6 separate regions of the Homo sapiens genome follow, and all the other regions are linked to region 4. The links are contacts of gene promoters, found by promoter capture Hi-C in blood cells and fetal thymus (Javierre and others, 2016). All regions are on one chromosome and are shown on one strand. The core of a region is centred on a gene start or on the middle of the fragment in contact, and the rest is flanking DNA. Distances in the headings are between cores, read along the strand shown.

Evidence for each region. Contacts are between HindIII fragments. The CHiCAGO score rates a contact against its expected background, and 5 or more counts as called.
Region 1: a contact is called between a fragment that was not itself captured here and the fragment with the promoter of CTB-3M24.3 in region 4, in 4 of 17 cell types (endothelial precursors, total CD8 T cells, naive CD8 T cells and 1 more). The highest score is 13.2, in endothelial precursors.
Region 2: a contact is called between a fragment that was not itself captured here and the fragment with the promoter of CTB-3M24.3 in region 4, in 1 of 17 cell types (endothelial precursors). The highest score is 5.4, in endothelial precursors.
Region 3: a fragment that was not itself captured here is called in contact with the fragment with the promoter of CTB-3M24.3 in region 4 in 1 of 17 cell types (endothelial precursors); the score reaches 5.1 in endothelial precursors.
Region 5: a contact is called between a fragment that was not itself captured here and the fragment with the promoter of CTB-3M24.3 in region 4, in 3 of 17 cell types (endothelial precursors, erythroblasts and M1 macrophages). The highest score is 7.9, in endothelial precursors.
Region 6: a fragment that was not itself captured here is called in contact with the fragment with the promoter of CTB-3M24.3 in region 4 in 4 of 17 cell types (endothelial precursors, M1 macrophages, M2 macrophages and 1 more); the score reaches 9.6 in endothelial precursors.

Annotation. Positions count from the first base shown.
Region 1 is chr5:133,855,567-133,859,317 of GRCh38, reverse strand. No RefSeq gene overlaps it. Among named protein-coding and RNA genes, the nearest start is that of WSPAR, 56 kb to the left of the region's middle. The HindIII fragment of the contact is 3,387 bases long and covers 1-3,359 here.
Region 2 is chr5:133,696,869-133,700,564 of GRCh38, reverse strand. It overlaps a transcript of FSTL4 not described here. Among named protein-coding and RNA genes, the nearest start is that of FSTL4, 86 kb to the right of the region's middle. The HindIII fragment of the contact is 1,308 bases long and covers 989-2,296 here.
Region 3 is chr5:133,668,408-133,671,830 of GRCh38, reverse strand. It overlaps a transcript of FSTL4 not described here. Among named protein-coding and RNA genes, the nearest start is that of FSTL4, 58 kb to the right of the region's middle. The HindIII fragment of the contact is 7,771 bases long and covers 1-3,423 here.
Region 4 is chr5:133,386,211-133,389,648 of GRCh38, reverse strand. CTB-3M24.3 (a long non-coding RNA gene) reads right to left here and starts at 1,767. Exons shown (of 3, transcript XR_948794.4): 1 at 1,679-1,767; 2 at 1,070-1,176. All of the region lies in intron 4 of FSTL4 (follistatin like 4), which reads left to right. The HindIII fragment of the contact is 3,410 bases long and covers 1-3,355 here.
Region 5 is chr5:133,717,855-133,721,809 of GRCh38, reverse strand. It overlaps a transcript of FSTL4 not described here and the pseudogene LOC101060035. Among named protein-coding and RNA genes, the nearest start is that of FSTL4, 110 kb to the right of the region's middle. The HindIII fragment of the contact is 987 bases long and covers 838-1,824 here.
Region 6 is chr5:133,879,612-133,883,065 of GRCh38, reverse strand. No RefSeq gene overlaps it. Among named protein-coding and RNA genes, the nearest start is that of WSPAR, 32 kb to the left of the region's middle. The HindIII fragment of the contact is 2,563 bases long and covers 299-2,861 here.

The DNA.
Region 1 (3,751 bases), core at 417-2,916, 470 kb before region 4:
CAGTGGGCTGCTCACAGCATGGCAGCTTGTTTCCCCCAGAGCAAATGCTGAGAAAGAGAATGAGAGTGAAAGAATGCAAAGTGAAAGTCACAGCCCTCAGTTTCAGAAGTGACATCCTGGCCAGGCACGGTGATGCAAGCCTGCAATCCCAGTGCTTTGGGAGGCCGTGGTGGGAGGATTGCTTGAGGCCTGAACAACCTTGTGAGACCCTGTCTCTCCAAAAACATAAAAATAAAAAATTACCTGGGTGTGGTGGCCTATGTCTGTAGTGCCTGCTACTCAGGAGGCTGAGGCAGGAGGATGGTTTGAACCCAGAAGCTGGAGGCTGCAGTGAGCTATGATCATGTCACTGCACTCCAGCCTGGGCAACAGAGCAAGACCCTGTCTCAAAAGAAAATAAAAGAGTCTTCCTTCCTTCCTTTCTTCCTCCCTTCCTCCCTCCCTTCCTCCCTCCCTCCCTCCCTCCCTCTCTCCCTTTCTTTCTTTCTGTGGTCTCCCTCTGTTGCCGAGGCTGGACTGTACTGCCGTGATCTCGGCTCGCTGCACCTCCCTGCCTCGGGCTCCCGTGATTCTCCTGCCTGGGCCTGCCGAGTGCCTGGGATTGCAGTCATGCGCCACCACGCCTGACTGGTTTTTGTATTTTTGGTGGAGATGGGGTTTCGCCGTGTTGGCTGGGCTGGTCTCCAGCTCCTGACCTCGAGTGATCTGCCCGCCTCTGCCTCCCAAGGTGCTGGGATTGCAGACGGAGTCTCGCTCACTCAATGCACAAATGTTGCCTAGGCTGGAGTGCAGTGGCATGATCTCGGCTCCCTACAACCTCCACCTCCCAGCCGCCTGCCTTAGGCTCCCAAAGTGCTAAGATTACAGCCTCTGCCCAGCTGCCACCCCGTCTAGGAAGTGAGGAGCGTCTCTGCCTGGCCACCCGTCATCTGGGATGTGAGGAGTGCCTCTGCCCGGCCGCCCATCGTCTGGGATGTGAGGAGCGCCTCTGCCCGGCTGCCCCGTCTGGGAAGTGAGGAGCGCCTCTGCCCAGCCGCCACCCCGTCTGGGAGGTGAGGAGCGTCTCTGCCTGGCCGCCGCCCTGTCTGGGAAGTGAGGAGCGCCTCTGCCCGGCCACCCCGTCTGGGAGGTGGAGAGCGCCTCTGCCCGGCCGCCACCCCATCTGGGATGTGAGGAGCGTCTCTGCCTGGCCGCCCCGTCTAGGAAGTGAGGAGCACCTCTGACTGGCTGCCCATCGTCTGGGAAGTCAGGAGCGCCTCTGCCCGGCCGCCCCGTCTGAGAAGTGAGGAGCGCCTCTGCCCAGCCGCCCCGTCTGGGAAGTGAGGAGTGCCTCTGCCCAGCAGCTGCCCTGTCTGGGAAGTGAGAAGCATCTCTGCCCAGCCGCCCCGCTGGGAAGTGGGGAGCGCCTCTGCCCGGCTGCCCTGTCTGGGAAGTGAGGAGCGCCTCTGCCCAGCCGCCCCGTCTGGGAAGTGGGGAGCACCTCTGCCCGGCCGCCCCGTCTGGGATGTGAGGATTGCCTCTGCCTGGCCGCCACCCCATCTGGGATGTGAGGAGCGCCTCTGCCTGGCCGCTGTGCAATCTTCCAAGTGCGAAGTGACAGACTTTCTACAGGTGTACCCAACAGCTCCGAGGAGACAGCGACCATCGAGAACCGGCCATGATGACGATGGCGGTTATGTCGAAAAGAAAAGGGGGAAATGTGGGGAAAAGAAAGAGAGATCAGATTGTTACTGTGTCTGTGTAGAAAGAAGTAGACATAGGAGACTCCATTTTGTTCTGTACTAAGAAAAATTCTTCTGCCTTGGGATGCTGTTAATCTATAACCTTACCCCCACCCCGGGCTCTCTGAAACATGTGCTGTGTCAACTCAGGGTTAAATGGATTAAGGGCGGTGCAAGATGTGCTTTGTTAAACAGATGCTTGAAGGCAGCATGCTCGTTAAGAGTCATACCACTCCCTAATCTCAAGTACCCAGGGACACAAACACTGCAGAAGGCCGCAGGGACCTTTGCCTAGGAAAACCAGAGACTTTTGTTCACGTGTTTATCTGCTGACCTTCTCTCCACTATTATCCTATGACCCTGCCACATCCCCCTCTCCGAGAAACACCCAAGAATGATCAATAAATACTAAAAAAAAAAAAAAAAAACCAGTAAAAAAAAAAAGAAAATAAAAGAGCGACATTCTATCATTTCTACCATACTCTATTTATTAGAAGCCAGTGGCTAGATTCAACCACACTCAACTCAAGGGGAGGGGTTTCCATCGGGGTGTGAATACAGCAGGCAGAGATCATTGGGGATCATTTTAGAAACTGCTTACCCACCCACTTTACAGGTGGGATAGCTGTAGTCCAGAGAGGTTAAGCTAGTAAAAGATAGAGCTGGGGTTTGAATCCAGCCCTGGGTGAGCTCAGAGCCCACCTTCTTAACCATTTTGCTGTCTTGCTTTCTTGAGCCTACATTATTTAAACACTTTTGCTGTCCTCAGACCATTTGAATGGCCCTCCTTGGTGTGCTGATGGCCCTCATGTACACCTCGGTCCTAGGATGGGCCTCCCTGCACTGCCATAATTGGTTTCTTCTCTGTCCGGCTAGATAGGATGACAAGCCAGGCACAAGACAGATAACTGAAAGTAAGGAATGAAGGCATGGGCTCAGGAGAGTTTGCTATTTAAGGAAGAGTGTCCTGGAAACATGGGGCCACAGGATGAGGAGTCCTTCCCTGATGCGTAGGAGCATGCGCTGACATTGGATTTCTGTGTTTGGCTATCTCTGTGTGGGGCTTTCCTGGGCCCTTAGAAGCTCACAGCTTGGCAGCTTCCTTGACCTGCCCTTCATCTCTCCTGTAGCATCTCTTTGGACCCCAGGGCACAGTGGCAGGACAGAGCAGTGTCCAAAAAAGTTCAAGGCGAATGGGTCTTGAAGGGCCCATTCTGGGAAAAGGAGAGGGCAGCAGTGTCCTCTGGACACAAGTCAGGGACACAAGTGGTGTCTATTGCGCATTGTCCACGTGGGAAAAAGCTCAGGGATCCCTAGAAGGTTGATGGCTTCCTGCAGGAGTGAGGAGGTATTTCCCCATCATTGATTCAGCACGGTGCTGTTGCCTTCTTCCTAAATGCCATCTGCTGGGAGCTTCTAGGACAGTGGTTTTCAAAGGATCTGGACCAGCCGCATCAGCCCCACCTGGAACGTGTTAGATGTGCAAATTTTCAGGCTTTCCCACCCAGATCCAGAGTTAGAAACTCCAGGCACGGGGCCCAGAAATCTGTGTTTTAATGAATCCTCCAGGTGATTCTGATGTGGATAAAATCTGAGAACCATTGCTCTAGGCAGTTTTTCTTTAAATCCTCCCAAGCTTTTACATTTTTAAAAATAAAAATTTCCCAAAGCAAAAATGTTCAATATATAAATGTTGGAAGATCCAGGGAAGCACAAAGAAGAAATTTTAAATAATCTGCAGATTAGTATTAATTTTTTAGTGCATATCGCTTCATTATTATAGGTATATGTGTATATTTATAAATGTACCCAATTTTGAAGAAGATTGAGATTTTACTATAAATATTGTTGTGTATGCTGCTTTTTAAACATTTCTCCAAGTCTTAAACATTGTCCCACTGCACCATTTATGCATGGCTGCGTAGTATTCCATGGTTGGAATATACCATCATCTGACCAATCTCTGGGACTGATGCAATCCGTTCCTTGGAGAGGGAGATTGTGAACTCTGCTCAGATGTGTTTACAACA
Region 2 (3,696 bases), core at 393-2,892, 310 kb before region 4:
TAGGCAGAGCACCTGCCCCATCAGGCACACTCACCTTGCCTGTTGGAGGATGAGCAGACCTGTCGTGAGCAGAAACTTTTGGTGTGGTGGTTTGGTGTGGTGGCTTGGTGTGATGGTTTGGTGTGGTGTTTGGTGTGATGGTTTGGTGTGGTGCTTTGGTCTGATGGTTTGGTGTGGTGTTTGGTGTGGTGGTTTGGTGTGGTGCTTTGGTGTGATGGTTTGGTGTGGTGGTCTGGTGTGATGTTTTGGTGTGATGTTTTGGTGTGGTGGTTTGGTGTGTGGCTTGGTGTGATGGTTTGGTGTGGTGGCTTTGTGTGATGGTTTGGTGTGGTGGTTTGGTGTGGTGACTTTGTGTGATGGTTTGGTGTGGTGGTTTGGTGTGATGGTTTGGTGTGGTGGTTCAGTGTGGTGGTTCAGTGTGATGTTTTGGTGTGGTGGTTTGGTGTGGCTTGCTCTCTGATGCTACTCGATGTGTGGTTGAGGAAGCTCATCCCACCTGGCTGTTGATCCTGCAGCAGGGGCCTGAATGAAGACCGCGGGCAAATGTGAATCTGACAAGAAGTCTGGAGTTGAGTCTGGTACAACCGAGCCCAGGCTAGATTAGCTAAATTGTAGCCAACCTGCAGACCTGGAAGAATGAATGTTGTGTAAGGCACTGGGTTGTTTTTTTTTTTTTTTTTTTTTGAGATGGAGTCTCACTCTTTCACCCAGGCCTGACTACAGTGGCGCTATCTCGGCTCACTGGAAGCTCCACCTCCCGGGTTCACGCCATTCTCCTGCCTCAGCCTCCCGAGTAGCTGGGACTACAGGTGCCCGCCACTGCACCTGGCTAATTTTTTGTATTTTTAGTAGAGACGAGGTTTCACCGTGTTAGACAGGATGGTCTCGATCTCCTGACCTCGTGATCCTCCCGCCTTGGCCTCCCAAAGTGCTGGGATTACAGGCGTGAGCCACCGCGCCCGGCCATGGCACTGGGGTTTTTGAAGCTTTTGGTTATACAGTGAAAACAGACTAGCACTACTCCCTGGGGAAGTACCTAACTCTTCTGAGCCTCCATTTCTTTATGAATAAAATCAAAACACTAACACCAACCTCGTAGAGCAGTTGTGAGGGTTAGCTGAGGTAAGCACAGTTCTCGGTGTGTAGTAAGTACTCATTTCTGAGCAGGTGGAGTTTCCTCGGGGTGGTTTTTGATGCAAATGGTCCTTATAGCAGAGGGGGAGTGCCTGGTTTTTAGGCAGATGCTGATTCTGGCTAGTTTTGTTTCCTCCTGGCTTCCCAGCTCCAAATGGCCTGACTGGCTGAAGCAAGTGGAATCTAGCACAGATTCCTCAGGCCCTGTGTGGACACTGGTGAGCCTAAGTGACATCATACCAAGTCTCATGGTGAGGGCACCTTCCTTCCTCTTAGCTGTTTTAAATGTCATACTCTGCCCTCAGAAAGGAGGGGCTGGTGAGAGGGCTGGAGTCCAGAGGCCTGGGTTGTAGTGGGCCCTGACCTCCAGGACACCATTGACTGCCTCTCCTTCTGGCTGTATTGAGATGCTGTCCCTCAAGGCATTGGCTTGTCACTGTCATCCTATAAGCGACAGGTCAGAGCAGTTCATACTGTGGCTTCAGGAATAAATTTGCTTCTCTGAATAGAAAGCAAAGGTGGTGTACCTGAGAGCCGTGGGTCTGTCTCCTTTGAGGGAAACCCACCAGGTCTCACAGAACCACTGCCCGGCCTCCCGAGGTCTCGTTGTATTTTGTAGCTGTCAGCCCTTCCAGCCCAGAGGGGACTTTGGCCATTGCTGTGAGACGCTTGAGAGCTCCAGATTCTCAAGGAGCCTTTTAGGACGGTCCTGAGATCTCCTCACTTACCTAACAGGGAAAGCATCTCCCATGTATGGAGCCCTGTATCTTTGCAGATGCTGTGCCAAGCACGTTACACGCATTATCACTTGTAATAGTCATGCATTATTGCATGTAATGGTCACGCATTATCGCATGTAATGGTCACACATTATTGCACGTAATCATCATGCATTATCGCATGTAATAGTCACAACGGCTCCATCATGTTTGACAGAAGAGCAAATGGAGGCTGACAGAGACAGTGCTCCCCACCCACCCCACCAAGGTCACCTGGCTGATAAGTGGCAGAGTTGGGATTTGGACTCAGGTCTGTGATTCACACTGTACTCTTCATTGCCACAATGACTGTCCCTGTCTGTCTGTCCTTCCTTCTTTCCCTGGAGTCTGTCTGGTGAGGCTCAGCCCTCAGTACAGATGCTCTCCTGCCATCTCTGGAAGCTTCTGGCAGCCCCTGGCTTCTGGATCTTTTCCTCCTGTCTCTGGGGGTGCTGCTTGCTGCTGCCTGAATGATTTTTCGACGCGAGCAGGGTGTGGGTTGTTAAGTAAGGGTATGAAGTAGTTGCTTCCTCCCTGTGGCTTTGACTTTGATAGTCAGGGGTCAGAGGAAGCTTGCTCTGGTTTCTTTTATGAAAGCCACACATTCACAGTGATGCTTAATAAATCCTCATGGAATTGAATTGGGAAAAAAGAATCTGCCCTCCAGAAAATGCTAGAACCCAAGTAGAAATAAAGCTGTTCTATTGAGGATAAAGACTTGGAGATAAGCCCTCATCTATGGGAGCTATCTTTTTGGGGGTACTTCCCCTGGTGACAGGGACAGACACTGGGGGAGTACAGCGGGCACGTGCCCTCCAGCAGGAAATTATCTGTTGAGAATTGCAACGGGTCCTGGCACCTTGCTGATTTTGCCAGGCCATGCTGGTGGATAGTCTCACGTGAGGTTGGGAAAGTGGTGACCCTTCCTTGGGCCATGGCAACGGGCCCTCACTTTCCCCTGCCTCTGAGGGCCAGAGCCTGCAGAGGGGACTGCTGAAGCCTGCCATCTACATGGAGCTTTCTGTCATACCAGAAGGGGCCCATTTCAGATTGACTTTATAAATTCAGCCTCTTAAAAATAAAGAGATTCTAGCAAGTGGGGCTTCAGTTTTCACTCCTCATTAGCTGTTGATGTGTCTTGGGTTTTCTTGGGAAATTCATGCAAATGGAGAAGGTGGGGTAGAGACTGTCTTTTCCATTGCTTCCAAGACAGAGAGGATGAATGTGTATATTTGTCATTGGGAAGAGGTCAGCATGGTCTGGGGCAGGGGGAGGAACCTGCTGATCCCATACTGTGGCTGCCCAGTGTGGCTGGTGGAGAGGCTGCATCTGGAGAGTGGGCGCTGAATTGGGCAGGGCCGTGTTTCACCCGGGGTTGCCTGAGTTGATCCTGGCTGTAGCCCCACCGAGTCCTTCCTCAGGGTGGTAGATGGGAACAGCAGGATTCTCATGTGGTGCCTCCCAGCCCTTGGCCTGCCAGCAGTGTGGGCTCAGCACCAACAGAGAGCACATTTGCTGCTTATATAATATCCCTGCTAGTCACTGGCAGAGACAAAGAGGAGCACCACACAAAAGATGTGCCCACAGTTGCCATGGTGGTTTCCAAGCCCTCCCCCTACCCTCCACTCATTCCTCCTAATCGCCCTGTGTTTCGGGCACTGCGGCTGAGGTAGCTGCATTGTCTGGTCCAAGGACCTGACGCTAGGGTGTTGGGGCTCCTCTCCTACAGGCAAGCTTGGGGTCCATTTAGGCTTCGTGGGCCTCAGGCCATGGCTCAGAAAGGACAACCTCTCAGCCTCACACT
Region 3 (3,423 bases), core at 143-2,642, 280 kb before region 4:
AGGTCATAGCCTGTTCCTCTTCCTTATTTGAACATGTTTTTACCTTTCTCAGCATTCCACAAGTTACTTCCTCCTTCCTTTGTTTTCCTCTGCCTTTGCCTCTTTTAAAATGTTCTAAGTTGCTAGCCAATCAGGACAAATATAGAATGTGAGGTCCCATTCCAGCCAATGGAAACCGGACACAGCAGTAGAGTGGATGCATCAGGTTATAAATGACCCTGTCTCCTTTGTTCGGTGTACTCTTGTGGCAAAACTGCTGGCGAGTGTACCCTTTCTGCAGAAAGTAAAAATGGCCTTGCTGAGGAAATTAAATTTATGTTCAAGTGCTATTTCTTTATGGCACTGAGGAACAAGCATTTGTAACATTATATACCCATGAAACTTGCTCTAACCTTTAGTTTTACCTACAAAATAAGGATAATAACAGCATCTATCTCTTTGGTTGTTGTGAAGATTAAAAGAGATGGTGCATGTGTATCTGTTATGTAGTGCTGTGTAGCAAACCATACCAAACTTGAGCGGCCTAAATGACAAGCATTTACATAGATTGTTTGCAGTTTGACAATTTAGGCAGGGCTCATCTGGACAGTTTTTCTGGTCTTGGTGGGGCTGTCTCATTCCTGGGTTATCAGCTGTCTGTCATCAAGGGAACTCTGCTCCCAGAGGCTGTCTGCCATCAGCTGGGGCACCTCGGCTGTCTTTCACAAGGTCTCGCCCCTTAGCAGGCTAGTATTGGCTTATTTTCATGGAGCAGGCAGGAAACCAAGAAAGCAAAAGAATAGTAGCCTTGATGTGCCTAGGCTTGGAACTGGTACAACATCACCTCTTCCTCATTCTATCTGCCAAAGAAATTTCATAGTCAGCCCAGATTCAAAGGATCTGGAGATGGAATCCAGGTCCTGATGGGTAGAGATGTGAAGCCACACCCAAAAGGTGTAGATATGGAATTGGAGCCATTTGTACAACCAGTATACCAGTCTGCCTTCTGATCAAAATTATTCACATCCTTCTACACGCAAAATGTACTCACTCCCTCTGAAGACCCTCAAAGTCTCATCCCATCCTGGCCTAATGCTTAACATTCAGGATCTTATAAAATCTACATAAAAATCCAGATGGAGCACTTTTTGTTCTGGAGACCCAGTGAATGAGAGAGCAAAGTAATCTGTCTCCCACACCCTCAGCATGTGCTGATGAGACAGGGACAGCATAATAGCAATAAACTCTCCTGTTTGAAACAGGTTAGTTACTACTCCATAATAATTCTGAAATCCCACAGGGTGGAAATGTTGCTGGGGCCCCCAACTCTGGGGTGAAAAGTATTCCTTGATTAGACCACTGTTCTACTCCCTGGAAATGATGCCCCAGTCCAGTGTGTCCACAGTTCTTGGTTCCACTCCCCGGGCTCTTGGCCTTGCCCACGCTTTCCTTTGTGTCACACTCCATGGCTACTTCTGAAGACATGGTTGATGTAGACAGCTTAGTAGTTTTCTCAGCCTGTTTTCTGGCCATAGAAAATTAAGGATCCAGAGGTCCTTTTGCAATTTGAACAGACTCAGTTTCTTTTAGCCCAGCCTGGCAGTACTTTTACCAGTTCAATTCATATTAAAAACACTGTGGAGTTTCTATGTATTTTATGATAGCCACCTCATGCTCAGAAAGGCACATCCACAATTTATGTCAAATATCCCTCTCTCTCAGCTGATTTACTGCTATGTTGACGACGGAAAAGGGTGTGTTGTCGGAGGGAAGGACATGGGTCCTACAGCAGTGTGGGCATCTTGGGAGCGGAGCGTGTAGCAAACACAGGGGTCTTGAGGGAATGTGGTGAGGGAGGCCTGAGACAGGGGCAGGACTCACATCTCATGCATCTAGTGACCCCAGGCTAGGATTTGGGTCTTTATCTTGAGGTTCATGGAAACTCTTAATGACTCTTATGCTAGAGAGCAGAGAGGCTCAGCCTAGCACTTCAGAAGTCCCTCTGGTTGCAGTGCGGGGAGGTTAGCCTAGGGCATGGGCTGGGTGGATCTGTGGTCCTGGGAATAAACTCACTTTCCCTGAGCTGGGCTGTAGAAGGCAGAGGCACTCGCAGCCTCAGAATTATTGACTCCACCAGGGCTTATCTCCTCTGGACTCGCTTGGTTCTCAGTTGGTGTGTGAGGGTGGATATTTGAGGTAACGTAATAGCAGCATCCTTTGCTAGTCCCAGATGCTCCCAAGGAGCCTGGCTGAAGGAGGCAGGTGGGTCCTCAGCCACACCACAGGCTGGTGCTGCCAAGCCGAGCTGCTGGGGGCAGGGCACACTTCAGCCCTTGCTGACCGGAACCTGGCAAGACACCTCCCTGGCTGAAGGATGTCATTTTCCTGTGAACTTCTTCTGTTTTCAATGATTTAGACAAGAACACAGAGCATGTTGCCCTCCTGAGCACTTTTGGTCAGGCTGTGAAGAAGTGCTCAGGGAGGATGAGCCCCCGGGGTGCAGGGTGGCCAGCCTGGAGCCTGACTGTCCACCTCATGCTCCCTCTTGCCCCCCCATCTCAGGATTTGGGGCCCTCATCTGCCCCACCTGCTCACCAGGAAGAGCTGGGTCTCCGTAGCTGACCCCTTGGGGAATGTGGATTTTAGAAGAGAAGCCAGGGAAGAACCTGGCATGTCCAGCTGTAGTGGGTGAGCTCAGGCTGTTGAAGAAGTGATTTTGGTGAAGGGATTTTTCTGGTGTTCCCTAAATCCCATCATTGAAGCATCCAATTATGCTACCTCTGTGAGGCTGGAATTATTAAAATATCCTGAATTGTGATGCTAATAGCAAATTTGCTAAATGGGAATGAATTTTTAATATCATAATTTGCTTTTTCCTTTTTATCTGATTCCTTTTCTTTCTAGATGTCACTTCATAAGAGTGAATGAAACTTGGAAACATTTCTTGCCCTTTCTGCTTATGACATATTTCATCAGATTTCTCCACATCTCAGAATTTTTCAGAATTCATCTAATGCACTATGCCTGATGGGCCTGGGCTCATTTGTTTTGGTGACGTCTGATCTCACACCCGAAATCACCCCTCCATGGGCAGCCTTAACCCCCAGCTTGACGATGTCACAAGACAGTATCCAGGCAAGCATCAGAGCTGGAACTGCCATCCAAAAGGGGCCCAAATGTCTCCAGACCCAGCCAATCTCTGGCTACTAGCAAGGTCATGTTAGCAACAGAAACCAGTGTCAGAAGGTCTAGCACAAGGCTGGCCACTCAGGCCTGCAGCCCTTCCTGCATGTTTTTGTAATATACCCCAAGAGTATCTCTTGAGCTCACAGACCATTCGCTCTGGCAGCTCGCAGAATGTAGAGGAAATAGAGATGCATGGTATGGTATCTGAGAAGGTACTTCTCTCTTCTGTCATACACCTGTCTGCAGGTAGTCTATCAT
Region 4 (3,438 bases), core at 518-3,017:
AACCTTTCTGGATAGGTGGGTGATGGACAGGAAAGCAGGGGCGAGGAAGATGTCTCTTATAAAGCTACAAAAGAAGAAATACCCTAGACAAAGGAGGAGGTTTCAGAAGGGGACACCAGGGTAGGGGCAGGGGTGTCAGAAAGGGTCAGTGACACATCATCCTAATTCCGCAGAGAGTGAGCTTGCTTGTTCTCCTTCCCACCCACCTGCAGAACTCCAGATTTTCAAGGGCGTCTCTCAACTGTTTAGCCATGAATGCTGGTTACAGGGAAGTTAAGACCCCTCTCCAGATGCAATATGTCGTGGCAGTGACCATGGATTTAGCTGTAATTCCAGTCTGGTCAATCTCACTGGGCTGCAGTGAGAGTAAACAGAGGTGAAGCCTGAACAGACCTGTCTGAACACGAATGAAAGGGAAGCTGGCTTCTGCAACAGAGGAGGAGGAGAGCACACACTTAAGATGCAGCAAAAGAGCATGCTTTGGGGAAAAATTATTACAAGAAACAGAAGCTCATTTTAGACAGCAACTGTGTTCTACTCCCAATGCAAGAAAACATGAACTCTGAAATGAGATAAAAAATGGGATTGTAAATTGGCTGAGCCACAGTCAAAAATAAAATGGAAGCTGGGGGAGGTAAGGAAAGAATATAAAGAACCTGAAATACAATTGCAGAAGTTCCTTCTCCACTTCAAGCAGTCAAAGGAAAGATTAACCATACAGAAATCATAGTTGTTCCAATACAGGGAACAAACTTGAAAACCGCTCCCCAAATACACCGAGAATGAGAAGAAGATTTAAAAAATACTGTGGGAGAGGATGATAGTTATGTAAGACAGAGATAAAAGATTTAAAATAATAGTGATTGGTTATCTTAAAGACCTCAGAGCAATTCAAATGGACACAATAAGCAAAGAGAGATCCAAAAAAATAAGTGCCCTATACTGAAAGATCTATCAAATAAGTCAAAATATAATTGCTGACATTTTAGGTTTTGAAAAAAAAAATTAAAGTGATCTGAAATATCCAGAGAGAGAAAAACAAAGCAGACAAAAAAAAAAAAAGTCCTACCTGGTGTTGCACTGGGGGCTCTTGAGTGGTTTCAGCTGACCGGCTTGCCCAGGGGCAGCTTCTCCCCTTCAGTTACATTTGTGTCAAAGGTGAGTCTCAGACACTGTCTGGTAGGAAGGAAAAAAAACATTCTGTTCTTGGACTTTTCTGCGATATTAAGAAGCAAGAAGGCAATGAAGAACATTGGTAGAATTTTGGGGTGGTAAGACCATGATGCAAGAATTCTACACTTATCAAATGGTGATCCATGTATGGAAAGAATAAAAAGTATTTTCTGCTGGGCAAGGGTTCAAATAATACACCATCCGTGTACTCTTGGCTGGGAAAAAAAGTGAAAGATGAACCCTTCACATTCTACAGAGAAATCAGAGAATCTGACAAAGAGGAACTCAAGGCTTAGGTGAGCACAGAGGCTCTTGAAATGAGAAGGTGTCTAAATAACTTTTTCAAATATAGTTACCAAAAATTGCAAAGGGTAAATGATGAGGTTAAGTGCGCTTAATTTTCTTGACTGACTTATTGGAATTTCAACAGATCCTGCATAATCCTTGACTCGGTATGTTAAAAAGCATACATGAGGGCAATATTCCATCAGAGCCCAGAACAAACCTCATGCAGCCCCAGACAAGTGTCCATGGCTGTTCCCAGGTGATCTGGGAGACTTCACCTCCTGCCTTCACTGGTGTATCCAGAGACCATGGGAAGGATCAGCCACTGACTGACGTGTTCGACCTACGGTCGGGCCTCCCCGTGCCTTCATCTCGGTGGCTAGAGTGTGCTCCCCAGAAAGCATGCAGGGCTACAACTGAAGTGGAAGAAAACCGCAGCGGGTCATAGTGTGTCTTCCTTGTGTGATGAAGCCTTTGTTCATGGGCGTGTGTCAGTATGCCAGTGACATGGTCAGGACAATTGGGAAGGCCTGAACTATTGGTTCTAATGTTGCAGTCAATACAATGTGATTAACCAATTAGAGAGAAATGCATAAGAGCCAAATTCTGTTGCCAAGAAAAGGCAAAGAAGGTAGAAGAGCTGCCCTGTTAAGAGATAGAGGTAGAAGTTCAACCCCCAAGGCAATAAAGGGCCACCATGGGACACAGCCTTGCAGAAAAGAAGGAATGGCCATCAGGGTGGGGTGGATAGGATCATGGGAAATACACATTCTCATTCACGGAGAATGTGCCAGGCTGCCAGCCCACCGCCAGGGGCTGTATGGACGTCATCTCATGCACTCCTTTTCCTAGTTGGTGTTTACTGAGAGGCAAAGAGAAGCCAGATAACTTTCCCAGTTACTGGACTTGTAAATGACGGCACCAGTACTGGCACCTGCCCATCCCCTTTCAGTGTGTGTCAGTGGCCACTCCCATGATTAGGAGAGATATTTGTCAGGGAGTGGGGCTTGACCTGAACCTGGAAGAGTGGGTGGGTGGGACATGAACAACCAGGTACAGGGCAGGGGCAGCAGCAGAGGGAAAGACTTCATGCAGCTTTGCTGATGTTATGGCTGCATTCCTTCCTCCTCCACCAGACTTGGCACTTGCAACTGATCAGACAGCAGGTACCTAAAAACTCTCACTCCCCTAAAGGGAAATGAGGAGAAGTTAGAGTTACCGCAGACATCAAATATTGTATATCCAGTTGTTTTAATGAAATGAATCACATTTACACCCATCTTGTCTTTGAACTTCAGTGGCTGTCTCCACGTGGCTATGTGACGTGACAACCCCAGTGAGCACATTACAAAGGAAGAAAGTCCCCGCCAATGCCACGTGAAACACAGGGTGAGGGCTTCGTTGCACAGGAAGAAAAACGTCCATATTTCTCGGTCACACCTTTCTGTCTCTCCACTTCTGCCTGGGTTCCTTCTCGCCAGTGTCCCCACCTCTGCCCCCTGCCAAATTTCAGTGACATGAAGATCTCGTTTATGTGCCAGGCTTGTCTCAATAAACATTCTCCTAGCAATTTTAAAGGAACAAACTTTCCATATTAAAAACTTTTGTGGTTCTCAGGGTAAACAACTGTGGGTATCAGGAAGACCTGAAGAAATGGGGAATCTATACAAAAGGAAGGCAAAGTCCACTGCTGAGAAATGTGGTTTCTCTCTGTAAAACATGCTGACAGAAGCCCATATACTAATTTAGAGAAACAGTTGGCACAAAACAAGATGCACAGTTGAGCGTGCCTGTCTAGAAGGCTGGGAAGGAAAGAACTTGAGTGAAGGCACCACCAGGATTCCTGTGGCTATAGCCCCACGGAGACTCTGCTGGCTGTGATTATAATCATCAAGCTTTGCAGCAAATGATTGTGATTTTACACATCCTACCCTTTTTAAAAAACCAGAGATTGGATGAGAATGGAGGGCAGGGTAACAA
Region 5 (3,955 bases), core at 82-2,581, 330 kb before region 4:
ATCCAAATTCATGATGCTCAAAGGTTCCCAGATAGATATAGCCCAAAGAGGTCCTCTCCAAGACACAAAATCAAATTGTCAAAAGTTAAAGACAAAGGGAGAATTTTAAAAGCAGCAAGAGGAAAACACCAAGTCACATATAAGAGAACCTACATTAAACTATCAGTATATTTCTTAGCAGAAACCTTACAGGCCAGTATAGAATGGGATGATATATTCAAAGTGCTAAAGGAAAAAAAAGACTGTCAGTCAAGAATACTATACCCAGCAAAGCTGTCCTTCAGAAATGAAGGAGAAGTAAAGTCTTTCCCAAATAAGGAAAAGCTGAAGGAATTCATCACCACTAGTACTGCCCTACAAGAAATGCTTAAGAGAGTTCTTAAAGTGGGAATAAAAGGACAATAATTACCATCATGAATATATATGAAAGTATAAAACTCACTGGTAGAGGTAAATGTGTAGCCAGATCCAGAAAACTATAATACCGCTGGTGTATAAATCATATAAATTTCTATTATGAAAGTTAAAAGTCAAAAAGTCATCAAAAATAAATAAAGCTACGATGAGTTGTTAAAGAATATACAATATAAAAATATGTAAATTGTGACATCAAAAACAAATTGTTGTGGGTAGAGGGTAAAAAAGATGGGCAAAAGGTATTTGAGCAATTGTTTCACACACAATAAATATGTGAGTGGCTAACAAACACATAAAAAGATGTTCAACAGGATTAATCACTAGGAAAATGCAAATTAAAACCACAGAGAGGAGAAGCTGGTTTCGAGTTCTGGCCAGTGGCAGGCAAAGAGTGGGCACTGGTGACTGCTAGATGAAGCTTGCTCATCTGAGAAGGCCCAGTTCTTATTCAATGGATAATGGCATTTGAGCTGATGCCAAAAAATAATTGGTATAGCATTTTTGGGGGCACACCCAAATGTGTCAAACCTAAAACAAAAGTATAAAAAACTTACATTAAAGCAGCATTCAGATTAACAAAGTACAGATGTGCCAGCAGGAATAGTGGAGGACTGTATACAGAAATTCATTGAAATTGATCAGGCGTGGAAAATTCTAGGGAATGAAGAGAAAAAAAGAGTATGATCCTCAGTGGCATGAAGATGATCTAAGAAATATGGAACCAGTAGATGCTCAACTATACCTTGAAAAAGTGCCTTGGAAAAAAGATGATGACTCTTTTTCCCCAAGTAGCCAATGTGGTAGAAAACACAGTGTTTCCAAGGATGAAGCAGAGGAAGTTAACCTATTTTCTTGTGATACATGTTCACTAATTACAGAACTTCTTCATTATTGGTAAAATTCTTCACTACTTGGAATCCTTGTCCTGTGTATTTGGACATGGTGAGGAGAGGCCATCTGAGCTTTGACAATTCAAGGGAATACATTCTATTGTTGTTAGCCCTATCATTTTCAATGAAAATATGATTGTCAAGCAAAGTCCACCTCAGATTAATAGAAAACTAATTTAGTTATTTACATGTATTGATAGTTTGTATTTACAGGTTGCCACAAAAAGAACTTGAATTACAAATTATATTTAGTGCATTCCAAAGGACTTTATTATTTCATTTTCTCCTTGATACAAAATGAGAATTTTCTTTTTCCTACTATGAGCATCTCCTTTTTTAGTGGGTAACAGTATCATTGCATTCCTTTATAGTTACTAAGTTTCTGATCTAACAGATGATATTTCTTGCTGCTAAAGTTATAGGCCTGTTATACACCTATCTCCAATTCTATGGTCATTAAACTTAAATTAGAAATCTTTGTGGATACGTGTGAAGCCAGTTCTCCCATAATGAAGCTTGAATATGGATATTCATGAGGTTATTTCAAAGTTCATAAAGAAAGTGAAGTGGCAACTCTAGGAAGAAAAATAGCTTTAGAGTCAGAAGACTTGACTCCAATCTTATCCTGTATTTCCAAAGCTCATGAATACTGCCATCTTCAATTTAAATGTAATATAGGACATGGGAGCTTTATAAAAATAACTGAAAATTGGCATACTACTTTTCTTTTTCAGAGTATTAAGATATAGTATTAATGCCTATATTTATAAATAAGGAACTATTTCATTGCTAATATAATCAAATGGACTTTTTTTTTTTTTTTTTTTTTTAGATGGAGTTTTGCTCCTGTTGCCCAGGCTGGAGTGCAATGGCGTGATCTTGGCTCACCGCAGCCTCTGTCTCCCGGGTTCAAGCAATTCTCCTGCCTCAGCCTCTTGAGTAGCTGGGATTACAGGCATGTGCCACTACGCCTGGCTAATTTTTTTTGTATTTTTAGTAGAGATGGGGTTTCCCCATGGTGGTTAGTCTGGTTTCGAACTCCCGACCTCAGGTGATCCACCTGCCTTGGCCTCCCAAAGTGCTGGGATTGCAGGTGTGAGCCATCGCGCCTGGCCTCAAATGGACTTTTATAATGTATTATTATTGGCCATAGCAGACTGTAGACCCCTTAAAGATTTATTTTTCTATATATTTAATATTCTGTGTACAGTTCAAGTAAGAACTCATTTAAATAATTTTAAGGGATCCTTTACAGAATCACTGAAACTTTTTACTTCAAATGTGTGTACTAAGCATGTAATTTAGCAGCTTTTTCTTAAGTCCAACTCTTAGCAGTGTCAGATTGGATTTGTAAGTAAGAATAATTACTACTCTGACTTGTAAATGTAGCCAAAGCATAAGAGATATTCAAAAACAGAAGATTACTTTCACTATATGTATAAAACCAAAAATTCAAAAGTGAAGCAGTCATCCAGGTTTTCCCCCCAAAATATTTTTATATCTATCATAAAGTTAAATGACTTATTTTGGATTACATTTTATTTATATATTTTGAACTAATATAGCTTGTAGAATATATGTTGCTTATTCTTTACATTTAGCAATTAAAAAGAACTAAAACTGAACAGCAAATAGCTTATTGGTATGTACATGGTTTCAATGGCAGTAATACATTTACTTGAATAGGAGGTAATAATCAAGTCACAAGAGTAAATGCTTGCTAATTATGTGAAAATCTGTGGCCGTTAGGGCTGTCACATAGAAATCCAAAATCACTCAGAGGCCAAATCTGTAAAATCAAAATGTGGTTGAAGACAATTAATAAAAATGATGTTATGACATCATCATATTTCCCTTTCTCTATTTCCTTTTTCCCTCTTCTCCCTGTCAGGTAATTAAATGCTTTCTTTGTCAATCAAGAATAAAATTTTCTACGTCAAAATAAGACATTAGAAAATAAACTTGCATGAGTATATGTATTTAAACTCTAAAGTTTGGAACATTCAGACATTATACAATAAATTACATGTGTGTAGTGTGTGAAGACCTATGCATGAGTAAAAATAAAGCCACAAGGAGAGACCACTACATACTCTTTAGAGTAGCTACAATGAAAAGAATACTGGCTAAGCGCAGTGTCTCATGCCTGTAATCCCAGCATTTTGGGAGGCCGAGGCAGGCGGATCACGAGATCAGGAGTTTGAGACCACCCTGGCCAACATAGTGAAACCTTGTCTCTACTAAAAATGTCAAAAATTGGCTGGGCATGGTGGCACACACCACTCGGGAGGCTGAGGCAAGAGAATCGCTTGAACCCGGGAGGCGGAGGTTGTAGTGAGCCAAGATTGTGCCACTGCACTCCAGCCTGGGTGACAGAGTGAGACTCCATCTCAAAAAAAAAAACCAAAAACCAAAAAACAAACAAACAAACAAACTAAATATTGGAGAGGATATGGAGCAACTGGAATTCTCATACCTTGTTGGTGAGAATGTACAATGATATGTCCACTTTGTAAAACAGTTGGGCAGTTTCTTATAAAGTTAAAAATACACATCAATTTCACTTCTAGGTATTTACCCAAGTGAAATGAACACATGTTTACCCTAAAAGGTATGCATGAAAGTTCATAGCAGCTTTATTCATAGTT
Region 6 (3,454 bases), core at 331-2,830, 490 kb before region 4:
CGTTCGAAGGGGCTGCTTATTAATCCAGCATTAGTCACGGTAGTTAAGCTTTTAGAGATAATGAAATGTAAATGTGCCTCCAGGACATGCCGCGTTTCCTGAAACTGAACACATTCGTGAAGAAAAATGGTTGCGGTAAGATTATGAAGAGTATTAATTGTATGGATTTACATACTCTACAGATGGCAATGCAGATGCTGGGGACAGCCAGGAGCCATGCCAGAAGCAGGCAGAAAGAGGGGCCGGCCTTTCTCTGCCCTTCCTGTAGAGGATGCTGCCTCAACTAGATACCAAAGCTTTTCTGCTGGAGTTTGTTTGTGTGTGTGTGTTTTATTTTTATTTTTAAGAGACAGGGTCTTGTTATGTTGCCCAAGCAGTCCTTAAACTCCTGGGCTCAAGCAGTCCTCCTGCCTTGGCCTCCCACTGGAGTTTTATGAGTGGAGAAACAGAGGGTCAGAAAGTTTAGAAAACCTGTCCAGGGCCACACAGGAAGGAGAGGCAGAGCTGGGCCACAGGCCTGGGCAGCCTGATTAGGCACTGGCTTCACCAGCTGCCCGCAGAGCGGCTCCCAGGGTGCCCTGTCCATCTGTGTCCCCGGTGGGGGCTTCAGCGCATCACTCGGCATCTATCCTGACCACTTCTCTCCTCTACAGCCCTCTTCCACCAGGACAGTGACGCTTAAAGTCAGAAGAGCCAGTGATGATGATTTTTAATCAACAGGTGTTAATTACAGAGCACCTGTGCATGCCAGGCACCATGCCAGGCTTCAGGTTCTGTTCATCTTGGAGCTGACATCCCAGCAGTCAACAAATCACCACCAAGTAGATGCGCAGCCACCACGTGCGAGAAGGGCTGGGCAGGCAAAAGAAGGAGAGTGATGCGAGATTAGAAGTGATGGTAATGATAACAACAGCTGACACTGGTTATTCGCTGCGTGCCCCACACAATTCAAAACATTTAGAGGGGACGACATTGTCCTTTTATCTTCATAGCAACTCTATGGATTAGCTTTGCTTTAAGACGAGGATACAGGTAGAGAGCGATTAAGCAGCTTATCCACGGTCCACAAGCAGGTGAGCAACAGACCGGGATTTGAACCAGGAAGTCTGACTCCAGATCCCCTGCTGTCCAGCACTGTGTGTTATTGCCTCTTACAGAAGAAAAGTAAACTAGGATTACTCAGGAAGCAGGGAAGCCTTGGCAGCGGAGGGCATGCTCACACTGGACCTGGGAAGTAGTTGGCCATGTGCAGGCGGCAGGGAGAGGGGAGTTCCAGGAGGGGAGCTGGGAGTGGGGGAAACCACAAGAAGGGAAGAGCTGGGTGCCTTGAGGGAGCTAACGGCTTCCTTGGGGCTGAGGCTGGGAGGCCAGGCCAGTGGGGTACAGCTCACCTTCACGGAGGCCCCTGGGGCTGTTGAGCTGTGAGTCCTTATCCTAAAAGCCACAGGAGGCTGGGCCAGATTTCTGAGCAGGGAAATGGCAAGAGTGATCATTCTTTCTGAGGAAATTCCTCAGTGAGGGGATGAGCCCTGCCCCCACTTCTGTGCCCCCATCAGCTTGGGAAATTGACATTTGGTATTTGGGGAGGGCATTGAAGTCAAGGGCAGTCTGGGTGCAGCACAAGCATCTGTTGGCTTGCACAGTCCGTTTCCAGACTTTGAAGAGGGAGGGAAGAGCCTGGCCACATCACCTTCCGAGGTGGTGTGGTGTGCAGGAAGGATGAGAGACCAGCCAGCCCTAGAGCTGTGTGTGTATGTGTGTGTGTGTGTGTGTGTGTGTGTGTGTGTGTGTATGTGTGACGCCTTCTGAGACAGGACAATTGGTGAATGCATTAGCATTGGCATGCACATTAATCTTTGAGGGAACTGCAGCCCAGCCATGGCTTATTGGAAAGATTATAGCCCCGAGGAAAGACACACATTGGTTAGTAATGACCTGAAGTTTATGAGTCCCAGGACCACTGACTCTTAGTGGGGAACGACTATTTGTAGTACAGAAGGAAGTGCCCCTTGGTGTTGAAAAGGAAAAGGCTACAGTGCATAACTTGGTGACTGTCACACACTTAAAGCAGAAGGAGATGGGGACTGAGGAAGTGTCTGATTCTGCCCTACAGTGGGATTCTCTGGGGGAAGATTTTGGTTGGTGTGTTATTTTGTCAAGCTCCAGGAGAAGGCCAGGGTCTCAGTGACCAGAGTGGGTCGAGAGCTGGGAATGTACAACACACATTTTCCTAGAAAATAGAAATACCAGCTGGGCATGGTGGCTCACACCTGTAATCCCAGCACTTTGGGAGGCTTAGGCAGGAGGGTCACGAGGTCAGGAGATTGAGACCATCCTGGCTAACATGGTGAAACCCCGTCTCTACTAAAAATACAAAAAATCAGCCGGGCGTGGTGGCGGGTGCCTGTAGTCCCAGCTATTTGGGAGGCTGAGGCAGGAGAATGGCGTGAACCTGGGAGGCGGAGCTTGCAGCGAGCCGAGATCGCACCACTGCACTCCAGCCTGGGTGACAGAGTGAGACTCCATCTCAAAAACAAACAAACAAACAAAAAAAGAAAATAGAAATACCTCCATGGTACAGTTGAGGAGGTGAGAGGATGTGAACACACCAGCTATAAGAAAGTATGATAGGTGTTCACAAGAGGGGTAAGTCCAGGAGGGCTTCCTGGAGGAGGCAGGCATTGAGCTGGATTCCGTGACTCTCAGGACAGTGATCATTAAAACCTTGAATGCCTCAGCAGAATGGCCCAACCTTAGGGAAAGGTCCCACTTCTGTTAGATCCTCACGAGGTTCCATGAGCTGAGGTTGAGATAACAGCTCTCGAGACCAAGTCCAGGCTTCTCCTCTTGCTGGCCAAGCTTTGGGGCAGTGGTTCCCTACCTGTAGCTCTAGAGTTCCTCCATGGGAAGGAGAGGCTCAGGGCAAGGGTCTGTGCAAGGACGGAGCTAGAGGACTAGCTATGTTTGTGTGGCGCTTCACATGTGCAGGGAAACATGGGCAACTGTCCTATCAAGAGTGGGGGCACTGATAGAGCTGTGGCCCCAAAGACACCCCCAGCCACTCATGATCTCTGCCACCGTTCTCAGGGTCTGGTCTGAAGCCGTTGCTGGGCTGAGGGAGGCTTACCAACAGCAGCCCTCTCTCCTGTGTCTATGTCTAAGAACACAGGCTCGCATAGTTTGCAACCCACCAAGGGCTGTTCTTGACCCAGAACAACCCCTCATTCTTCTATGTCTGCCAAATTCCAGCCACCCTTTGGGACTTTTTCCCAGTCCTTCCTTTTGCACTCCCTAGAAGCTCCACAAGAGCAAGGGTTCCTGACTTCATTCCTTGATGTTTCCCAAGAGTGTAGAACAGTGCCTGGTGTGTAGTAGGTGCTAGGGAATATCTGGGTAATGAATGAATGAGACTTTCCTCTCCCTCCAGCCTTGGAGGTCCCATGGGATTTTTACA